Linked DNA regions of Homo sapiens: region 2 is linked to region 1. The links are contacts of gene promoters, found by promoter capture Hi-C in blood cells and fetal thymus (Javierre and others, 2016). All regions are on one chromosome and are shown on one strand. The core of a region is centred on a gene start or on the middle of the fragment in contact, and the rest is flanking DNA. Distances in the headings are between cores, read along the strand shown.

Evidence for each region. The method cuts DNA at HindIII sites, captures the fragments that hold promoters and counts their contacts. A CHiCAGO score of 5 or more calls a contact.
Region 2: a fragment that was not itself captured here is called in contact with the fragment with the promoter of PYROXD2 in region 1 in 2 of 17 cell types (M0 macrophages and M1 macrophages); the score reaches 5.5 in M0 macrophages.

What each region holds. Positions count from the first base shown.
Region 1 is chr10:98,411,832-98,416,593 of GRCh38, reverse strand. PYROXD2 (pyridine nucleotide-disulphide oxidoreductase domain 2) reads left to right here and starts at 1,412. Exons shown (of 16, transcript NM_032709.3): 1 at 1,412-1,585. The coding sequence starts at 1,459. HPS1 (HPS1 biogenesis of lysosomal organelles complex 3 subunit 1) reads left to right here. Exons shown (of 20, transcript NM_000195.5): 20 at 1-396. The HindIII fragment of the contact is 3,850 bases long and covers 1-3,606 here.
Region 2 is chr10:99,356,604-99,361,365 of GRCh38, reverse strand. CNNM1 (cyclin and CBS domain divalent metal cation transport mediator 1) reads right to left here. Exons shown (of 11, transcript NM_020348.3): 2 at 3,711-3,854; 3 at 391-531. Among named protein-coding and RNA genes, the nearest start is that of CNNM1, 30 kb to the right of the region's middle. RefSeq lists enhancers at 2,070-2,736, 2,737-3,404. The HindIII fragment of the contact is 1,648 bases long and covers 1,384-3,031 here.

The DNA of each region.
Region 1 (4,762 bases), core at 163-2,662:
TTCTGTGTCTTTAGTCTTGAGCCAAAATTTGCTCAAAGACTGATCTCTTCCTTGCAGGGAACAGCTTTGGGGCTGGGGGAACTAGAACCCACATGTTGGTCTAAACCCTGAGAAGGTGGCAGTGAGGAAGTATCCCCTCAGGTGACTGGATCTGTGTTCCTCCTTAACATCATCTGATGGAATGGCAATGAAAAGCGTGGATTGTGGAAAATACAGAAAAACATAAAGGAAAAAACTCCAATCCCCTGAGCCCACCACTGTTCAGGACCCCTGCTTTTGTCACCTACTATTTCCCTTTAGTTTTTAGCAGCGGCTGGATGTGATATGTCTAGTTTAACCAGTCCCCTTGATCTTTCTATATAATAAATAACACAGGAGTGAACATCCTGAATCAGATCTTAGCAGAGATGCTCACATGCGGGGTAACTGTCCATGGTGTGTGGAGGGGTCCTCGGAACCCCCTCTTAGGATCATCTCCACATACTCTCCCAGTTCTGAGATTCGTTACCAATAGCAGGTTTCCGTCACACTGCGATATCAGAGCAGTGCAGGAACTCTCCGCTCCAAGGGGTTTTTTCCTCCTAGGGGAACACTCTGCTAAGTAATGGGCAGAGAACAAAGGGGCTCCTAATTCAAGGCAGGCCTAAGGGAGGGTCAGAAAGAACTTTAGCTGGAGGTATTTACAGATGTGACCTCGAATCCTTGGGGATTCTTGGAAAATGGGCAAGGTGCCAAAAGAGGAGAACTGGCCAGGCCTTCAAAACTAAAACACCAGAGAATTACAGACAGCGAACTTGCCCCTAAGCCCTCGTTGTGGGTTTGTGTTTGAGCATTTAGGAGAGGACTCCAGTGCTCCTCAGCGACAGACACAGCTGCCTCTGCGGTGTCTGAAGGCCCTGGTCGTGGTGACGCTAGATGGCCGCCCTGGGCGCCTCCTGTGGGCGTAGAGGCATCACCACTCTGCACTGGCAGACTCAGCATGGAGTTGGAGCAGAGTCTGACACGAGCACTTGCCATCCCAGGCGTTTCAGTTCTGACTGAGAAGGTAGATGCACAGGGGAGGAGAGGGCCCTTTCGAGCTCCACTCTGCCTCCACCACTCATTCCCTAACCCCGCAGCCTCAGCGCCCTCATCTGTAAAATGGGGAGTTTTGCCTACAGGGTTCAGCACAATGCCAGCCTGACATAGGAACCCCAGTGGATTGTCAGTTTTGCCATTATCCCCTGCATCCTGGAGGTGACACCGCCTGGTTAATAGGCAACACTCCCGACGGCCCAGCACAGCCCCAGGGCAGCAGGAGGCTGGCCTGTGGCCAAGAATGCATGGTGGAGGGGGCCTGGAGGGGGACTGCAGCTCCTCCTCTTCCTGCTTCCTCCCTGCTCCACCCCGTGCCTAGGGCAGCACAAAAGCCAATCGCTAGCAAACTCCCTGCCTAGCAAGGCCCAGCCTGGGGCAGAAATGGCTGCAAGTGGCCGAGGTCTCTGCAAGGCTGTGGCCGCCTCTCCCTTCCCGGCGTGGAGACGAGATAACACGGAAGCCAGGGGAGGTCTGAAGCCTGAGTATGATGCGGTGGTGATAGGAGCAGGTAAAGTGGTAAAGCAGGCCGGGCCAGAGCTGAGGGGCGGGAAGACAGCCCTGCTCAGAGCTTGGTGGGGAGGGGGAGGGGGAGCCAAGCCCCACTGCTCTCTCCTCTGGCATAACCCAGCCAGAAGTTTATACGCTAGCAGGGGCTGCAATGGAAAGCCCTTCCATCTGGCAGGCAGGCACCTGGGATTCCGGTGCTGGCTCTGCTGTGTGGCCTGGGGCAAATGCTTGCCTTCTCTGGGCTTGGATCTTCCCATGGAGAATGACAGGAAGACTAGGTGAGCTCAGGGGTTTCCCTATATCTCTTGCAAAGTGACCTAGTTTCCACCACATTCTCAGCCTATGGTTTGTAAGGGTTGGAAAGAGCCCTGGGCCAACAGACAAGTGAAATCCAGCACCCCGCCCCCTCAGTGCCCTGAGTTCTGGTCACCACTACCTTACCACTGAGGCCACCCCTCGTCACAAGAAACTGCAGTCATTTCATAAAGGCCAGTTAGGATAAAACAGAACTGAGTCCCAGAGTTCCTACTGCGTGTCTGCAGAGGGAGATGGACCCCATTGCCTTGCAGCTCTGGGACATTTGGGGATCTGCAGTGATCTGCCACACTTTGCCAACCCCTGGGCTCAGAGTATCACAGTCTACTGGGTGCTAGGGGAAGAGGCAGGCCCAGGACCAGGTGGTCTTTCCTTAGTGCCTTCCTTTCACACTTGCAGAGGGCCCCAAATGCATGATTGCCAACTGGGTCTATACAGAGATAATGACGGGACCGAAAGCAGACGGCACTCAACATGCAGCTTTGAGGGCATGCCTTCATTTTCATATGTACTAGAGCAGTTGCGAGCTGGTAGATACTCAACACTCACCTCTCCAGGGAAAAATGTGTGATGTATGTGTGTGTGTACATGTATATATATGTATATATACACACATATATGTGTATATATATGTATATGTGTTACGTACATATATATACACATATACACATGCTTATTTTAAATATTGAAATAAAAGATACACTGCACACAATTTTACAAATAAAGATACAATACTCTCAATTTAAATGCAGTCTACCCGAGTGATTCTTACCAAAGGCTTTCTTTGATTTTTGCCAAACTCAGTAGCCAACCTATAGTTGCAAATGACAAATGAGGGTAGCTCCAAAGAGAACGGTGCTCCATATTTTCTGTAAAGAGTAGGATGATCGTGAAACAAATGAAACAACAAAGATTTATGTCCCAACCTTACTCCTTTATTTTTTAAAATTTATTTTTATTTTATTTATTTATTCATTTATTGAGATGGAGTCTTGCTCTGTTGCCCAGGCTGGAGTGCAGCGGCGCAATCTCGGCTCACTGCAACCTCCGCCTCCTGGGTTCAAGCGATTCTCTTGCCTCAGCCTCCCGAGTAGCTGGGACTACAGGCGCCCACCACCACGCCCGGCTAATTTTTGTATTTTTAGTAGAGACGGGGTTTCACCATGTTGGCGAGGCTGATCTCAAACTCCTGGCCTTGTGATCCACCTGCCTCAGCCTCCCAAAGGGCTGGGATTACAGGTGTGAGCCACTGCGCCCGGCCTCCTTCTTTAAATGACAGGAATGATGTTACTCAAATAAGATAATATTGTTCTAATACTAGAATATTTCCTTCAATTTTTGTGCTATTTATTCATGCTATAACAGCTAACACTGTTAGGTTTAATCTGCATTATTAGCATTTTCCCATCACTTTCTTAAGCCTGACCACAAAAAATAAATTCAGCCCTTCTGTGTAATATTTGCTGATGACAGTGGTGTAAATACTCCCACCATAGCCTTTTCTGTTACCAAGATGAGGTTGCTCAATGTGATTTAGGAGAGATACCCAGTAGCACATCATTGTATAGTGTGTCCACCATGCAGATATGTACATAGAGGCCAGTGACTGCCAGGGCATGGGCAACAGTCAAATGTAGTAAAACAAATAGGAGGTAGTGTGTTTTGAGTATTTATTACCTTTGTTTTTAATTTATTTAATTGTAAGCTTATATAATTTAGTTTATATCAATGGCTGTTTGACAGCCGGCTCACAAACTCCCCGGGCTGGTGGGAGCCATCTCCAGCACCTCACTTAGCCTCAGAGAAGCCCCCTGCCTCCTTCCGTGCTCAGCCACAGCTCACCCTGCTGTCTCCTAATGGGGAAGGTTGACTTTAGGTCACCAGCTGCCTTGGTGACTTGCCTACAAGTGCGAGTGAGTCTCAGTGTGTGAGCTTTTCCTTGACATGATTTCTTTAGTTGCTAAACATACCATAAAGCCTGGTTTAAAGGCATCTTGGGCCTCAGTGAGGAACAGAACGGCATCTTCTGAGACAAGGGTTACCTCTGAGTCCCTGAAGGCACACTGGCACCTGGCCGCCACCTTGAAGATGAATCTCATTTAGTCATTTGACTAAATGTGCCTGAGAGTGACTGAGGGGGCTTGTTAAAATGGAGATTCCTGGCCCCATACCTGGTGACGAGCATTCTGAGGGCGGGAGGTGTCTCCCAGAGGTCAGCACATCCACCCAACCAACACTGCCTGATGCAGGCAGCTGCAGAGCCCACGCCCAGAGCAGCTCCTCAAGGGCCCAGGCGCCTGCTATGGGGCCCCTGAGGCAGGTCTGGGGATTAGCAGAGCCCGCAGCTGAAGTCCTCTTCAAGGGAACAGAGGTGTCACCAGAAGCCAAGGAGGGCTCAGCCAGGACTTGAGGGTGGTCACTGGGAGGGGGTCTTGTGCTTTGGATCCTTGACCTTACTCATTTGAGGTCTGCCATGATTGAACTGGACCCAGTTGCCTGGAAGACTATGAGTTTTCCAAGATCGATCATCAGCACCAATTAAAAGACAAATAGCTCCCATTTATCTCATCCTTGCCACACTGCAGGGTCCCTGGCACCCTCTGTTCCCCATGTGAAGAAACTCAAGGCTCAGGGCAGCTGATGACTCTCTGAGGTCATGCCCTGGCAAATAGCAGAGGCTGGGCTGAGCCCAGGACTGTCTGCCTTTAGTTTGCTGCATGTCTTTGAGAGACAGATTCCATCTGTTCATGAGTCCCACTGGCGGATTGTTTAAACTTTCTTATGAACATTTTCAAAAGCCCATACAAATAAAGAGTATGTCAACCAGCACTTTTTAAGATGAACTGTAACCAACTAGCTTCTC
Region 2 (4,762 bases), core at 958-3,457, 940 kb before region 1:
TACACTTCTGTATTTTAAAAATTCATAGCTCACAGGCTTCTGTGGCACTGCTCTAGGGCACTGCAAGTCTAACAGACAGGGAGATGGCCTCGGGCTTCAGCGAGGAAGTGAGTAGAAGAGGGAAAAGTGCAGCAATGGTTTCTTTAGCTCTTTTCTCTGGTAGAAGAGTTGAGTTATACTCATTTCTTCCTCTATGAGATCAGGCCTGGGGCTCAATACGACAGTAGGTGGCATCCATTACCCTGTCTAAGGCAACCTCCTTCCTAGAACAGTGCTTCTCAGTCCTGACAGCACACTGGAATCAGGCTGGAAGGTATTAACAACGATTGGTGCCTGGGTCCCACCCTAGAGATTCTGTTTTAGCTTCTCTGGAGTGGAGACTTGTCCTACCTGTGGCCATGAAGCGGTGTGTGGCTAGCAGAAGCTGTGGTGAGATCTTCACCCGCATCTCCGTGTCCGAAAGCTTAAACAAGGAGAAGTCATGCCGCTTCCGCTCCCGTTGCGGGACCCTCTGCTTTTTCCGATTGTCAGCTGTGGGGTCACAGAGGACAGATTACAGCTATCTCAGAATCACGTTGATCTTTGGAGGTTTTCCCAGAATCACAGGGGACAGATAGAACATTTCTGCAGTGTCAACTATGGGTGACATCACAATATCACCCAGGAAGTAGAAGGATGTTGGTGAGGGATAGACAATGGGAGACTGCCATCATTTCAGTGTTTTCCACACTTAGGGGGTGTATAGTAGAAAAAGGGGAAAGCAGGCTTGGGGTACCCAAGTCTGGGGTTCTGGGGCTGGTTCCCCTACTTACCATGTAATCTCTCTAAGCATTAGAGTTTTTATTTTAATCTGTACAAGGAGGCTAATAATATTTAATATAGCTCTCATACTCATCTTGTGCAATTAATTATGAGACTCCAACTGGAAACTACCTGTGAGAATGCTTTTACCCAAAGTCATACACACACAAGGGACCTGCATTCTTAGTATCAAGAGGGTTGCAGGGGCCCAGGGAATTTCTGACTCTGTCCCCCTCCTTTGCCCTGAACTGGCCTCACCTAGTCTCCTGCTGCTTATGTGAACCATGCTCTGAGTGGTACCTGAAGCATGCCACACAAGGAAGGAGGGCGGCCACCACCTCTTATTTCACAATTTCCCTGCTTCAACCCCAGTCCCTCCACTGGGAGGGAATCAGGGGAAATATAGGGAAGAAGAGAGGAGAAGAAATAAGATTGGACCTATAATCTCTAAAGGTGGGTTTTCTGGATGGGGGCCTCAGGCAGGGTCTGGTACCTCCCAAGAGCCTATGTATCAGGCATGTAATTATTGGTTGAAAACATTTGCTTTTTCCAATTTAATTTGTTCTCATTCTTTTTAAAGCTTGTCTAAATATATCTACTTCCCCCCCGGCCCCCGCTTTTTTTTTTGTTTTTTTTTTTTTGGTAGAGGAAATGTTTTCTTTGGTTCTTTCTCTTTTGCTTTCCCTGAGTTTTGAGTAAAATTTTGAAACTGCTAGCCCATCTTACCTGCACTAAGGGGAACAGGGAGAGGGATTTGGGTTTTCTCCAAACTTCGCCTAAAGAGAAACAGGGCTGTGGGGGAACGTCTGGTGCAAGCTGAGTGGATGCAGTGAGAATGAAAGGGAATGAACCCCTGTGGCAGGAAAATAAGGCCCCAGAATCCGGCTCCCTGGTGTGCCCCCTCTCCTTTTGGGGCCTGCTTTTGGGTTTCCTTCTAGAAGGGTCAAAGTGCCCTCCTGCCGGTGCAGCTCTTCCATGGCCCGCTCTGACTCTGGGCCTTCACAGTCATCTGGCCCCTGCTTTGACACTCCTTTTGCTCAAGTCACAATGGGCAGACCCAGACCCAGGTGTCCAGATCACGTAAGAGGTCAGGGTCATGCAAGAAGAAAGACAGTATCCCTGGCTTCTGGGCCTTTTCATAGCTCTTAGGGAATCATGCCAGCAGCTATTTATAGGTAGAAAGACCCTAACCTGCTCCTGTAGAAAGAGGATCACTCAGCAAAAGAGTAGCAAAATACAGGCTATTAGCCCAGCTCTTTCGCTCTCACTAGTGAGCAACTTTCTGATTTGTATGATAAGTTTGCCTAAATAGCCCCCCTCTCCCCCATCAGATTGCCACTTAACATGGCATTATTAGGAAATCATTCCTCTCATCGCCCCCTTCTCCTTAGATTTCAATAGTGTGTGTTGGAAGCCTTAAGGTTGTTCAAACAAGTGCCCTGGGAGGAGCTTACTCATTTAGACTATTATCAGTACCTAACACCTTAGTGTGAATGGCTTCACTAGTTTATCTGAGACACCTGGGATTTTTTTTTTTTTTTTTTTTTTTTTTTTTTTTTTGAGACAGTCTTGCCCTGTCACCCAGGCTCCCATGCTGGAGTGCTGTGGCACAATCTCCACTCACTGCAGCCAGGACCTCCCAGGCTCAAGTGATCCTCCCACCTTGGCCTCTCAAGTAGCTGGGACTACAGGCACACGTCACCACGCCTGGCTAACTGTTGTATTTTTTGTAGAGATGGGGTTTCACCATGTTGCCCAGGCTACACCTGAGAATTCTAAATCAAGAGTGGCAGGCAGAGGTGGGGGAGGGAGAGGACATTTCCGAGCTCGTTCCTCATGTGAGGAAGACACGCCTGGTCCGGGCAAGCACAGCAGTGCCCAGGCTCTTGGAGGGAGGTGCCATGACTCTCTTGCTTGTCTTTGCCAAGGCCTGGCCCACCTTTTAGAGTTGATCTCTTCTTTGTCTAAAAGGAAGGCACTCTTTCTGCACTGCTCACTGCCTTATGGTATCAAAGCTCTTTCTACCAGGAGCCAGTTTCTGAAAGGCCGCATCTCACAAACTAAGGACCAAAGTCTGAAACGAGTTATCTGCAAGGAAGAAAAGGATGGCTATTCCATGAGATGAAATTCTCAGGAGGAAACACTTCCCAGCCTAGGGACTCCCATGGACTTAGATAACATTCCAATCCTAAAGACAAAGCATGCCTTTGTAATGTTTGCAAGCAAAGCTTTGATAAGGTTCAGTAACCCAAAGTACTCACATCTGCATAGAAAAGTCTGTATTGTTCCTGAGTGAGGGAGTTAGGAGGGGCAGCAGACCAGAAAGAAGGAAGCAGAGACAAGAGCAGGGATGCTGGTGGCAGGGAGAGAACAGAAACCCAGGGTGGTGGGCTGAAAGGCAGAAGAGGACAGGGAAGTTTGTAAGAAGGAGTATTCAGTTTTTGGCTTAGGCTGTGAGTAGGCAATCTCATGACAGTCTCCACTGCTCACTGCGATGTTCTGATGTGAGTGGAACCCCTGTTGGGGTCTGCATCTAGGTGGATGAAGCAACCAAACAAGAACACAGGGGACAGAAACAAGGGCAGAGAGGCCTCTGGGCACCGTCCTGGGAACACTGTGTTTCCTGTAGTCCCGTTTCTATCCAAAGGCTGGGAGGTCTCCTTTTCATAGTCTTGGCTCAGTTCCTGAAGGTTCCCTCCTGATAAACACTTAGCTAGCATGTTCCCAGTGACTCAGAAGTGATTCCAACTAGGGTATCTTGCCACAGCAGCACCTGGCATAGGTGGCTGACACACATCAGGGCACAGGGTTTGCCCTGACACCCTTTCTATAAATCAAATGAGGCTTTACCTGAGAGTCTTGGAGGAAAATAAGATGACCCTGGAGAACAGCCAAGGCCGTGCACTTACTGTAGAGATCAGTTTCATCCAGGATCTCCGACTTGATAATCTCCTCTATGATATCCTCCAGCGTGACAATGCCCATCACCTCATAGAAAGGGTCCCCTTCTCCCTCATTATTCACCCGCTGGACAATGGCCAGGTGAGATTTTCCTAGAGAACAAATGAAATCACAGTTAAGTATCGGGGACATTTTCAGAGATCTTTTTTTGTGAGAAAAATGATACAAAGTTGCTGTCTGACCAATCTCAGGATTGCACTCATCCCTGGACCTCCTTAAAATATGAAGTTTTTATGCAAGCGCTTATAAATGCAAGGGCTTATAAATGCAAACCTTATTCTTCTAGATTTGTGTTTCTATTTAGGGAAGTTACTGAATATATTCAAAACCAGTTAGTTTTTTTTCTTTGAACTTTTACATATTAGCAAGTATATGTTAGCTGATATAATATATACTAATTGAAAGAGCAAGAATTTAGAGTCAGAATTATGGTAAAAGTCATTCTCCTCCCCTAAGCCCCCTTCCCCACTAACTATCCCAGTTACTATTCCTTGACAAATCATTTAATCTCCACTGAATTACCATCTCTCATCTAGAATCAGGAAATAATGCCAGTGTGGTGATTTTAAAACATGGCCTTTGTGGTATGCCTCCCACGGAGAGGTGTGATCTACAGCCCCTCCCCTTGAATCTGGGGGGGCTTGTGACTACTTCAACCAAAAGAGAATGGGAAATGAATGTTCATTATAGGACTTCTGAGGCCAGGTCATAAAGGCATGTAGCTTTTGCTGCAAGAACATTGTAAGAAGTCTGACTACTACCCTGAGGCCACCATAGTGGAGAGGCCACATGTAGGTGCTTAGGTGCCAGTCCCAGCTGAGCCCACCCTTCCAGGTTTCCCACCAAAGTGCCAGGCAGTTTGGCAGAAGAAGTGGTCTTGGAAGTGGATCTGCCAGTCTCAGCTGATCCAGCCCCTTGTCTCACTCACTCCCCAGCCTTTCTTTCTTCCCTCCCTCCCTCCTTTCTTTCTTTCTTTTCTTTTCTTTCTTTCTTTCTTTTC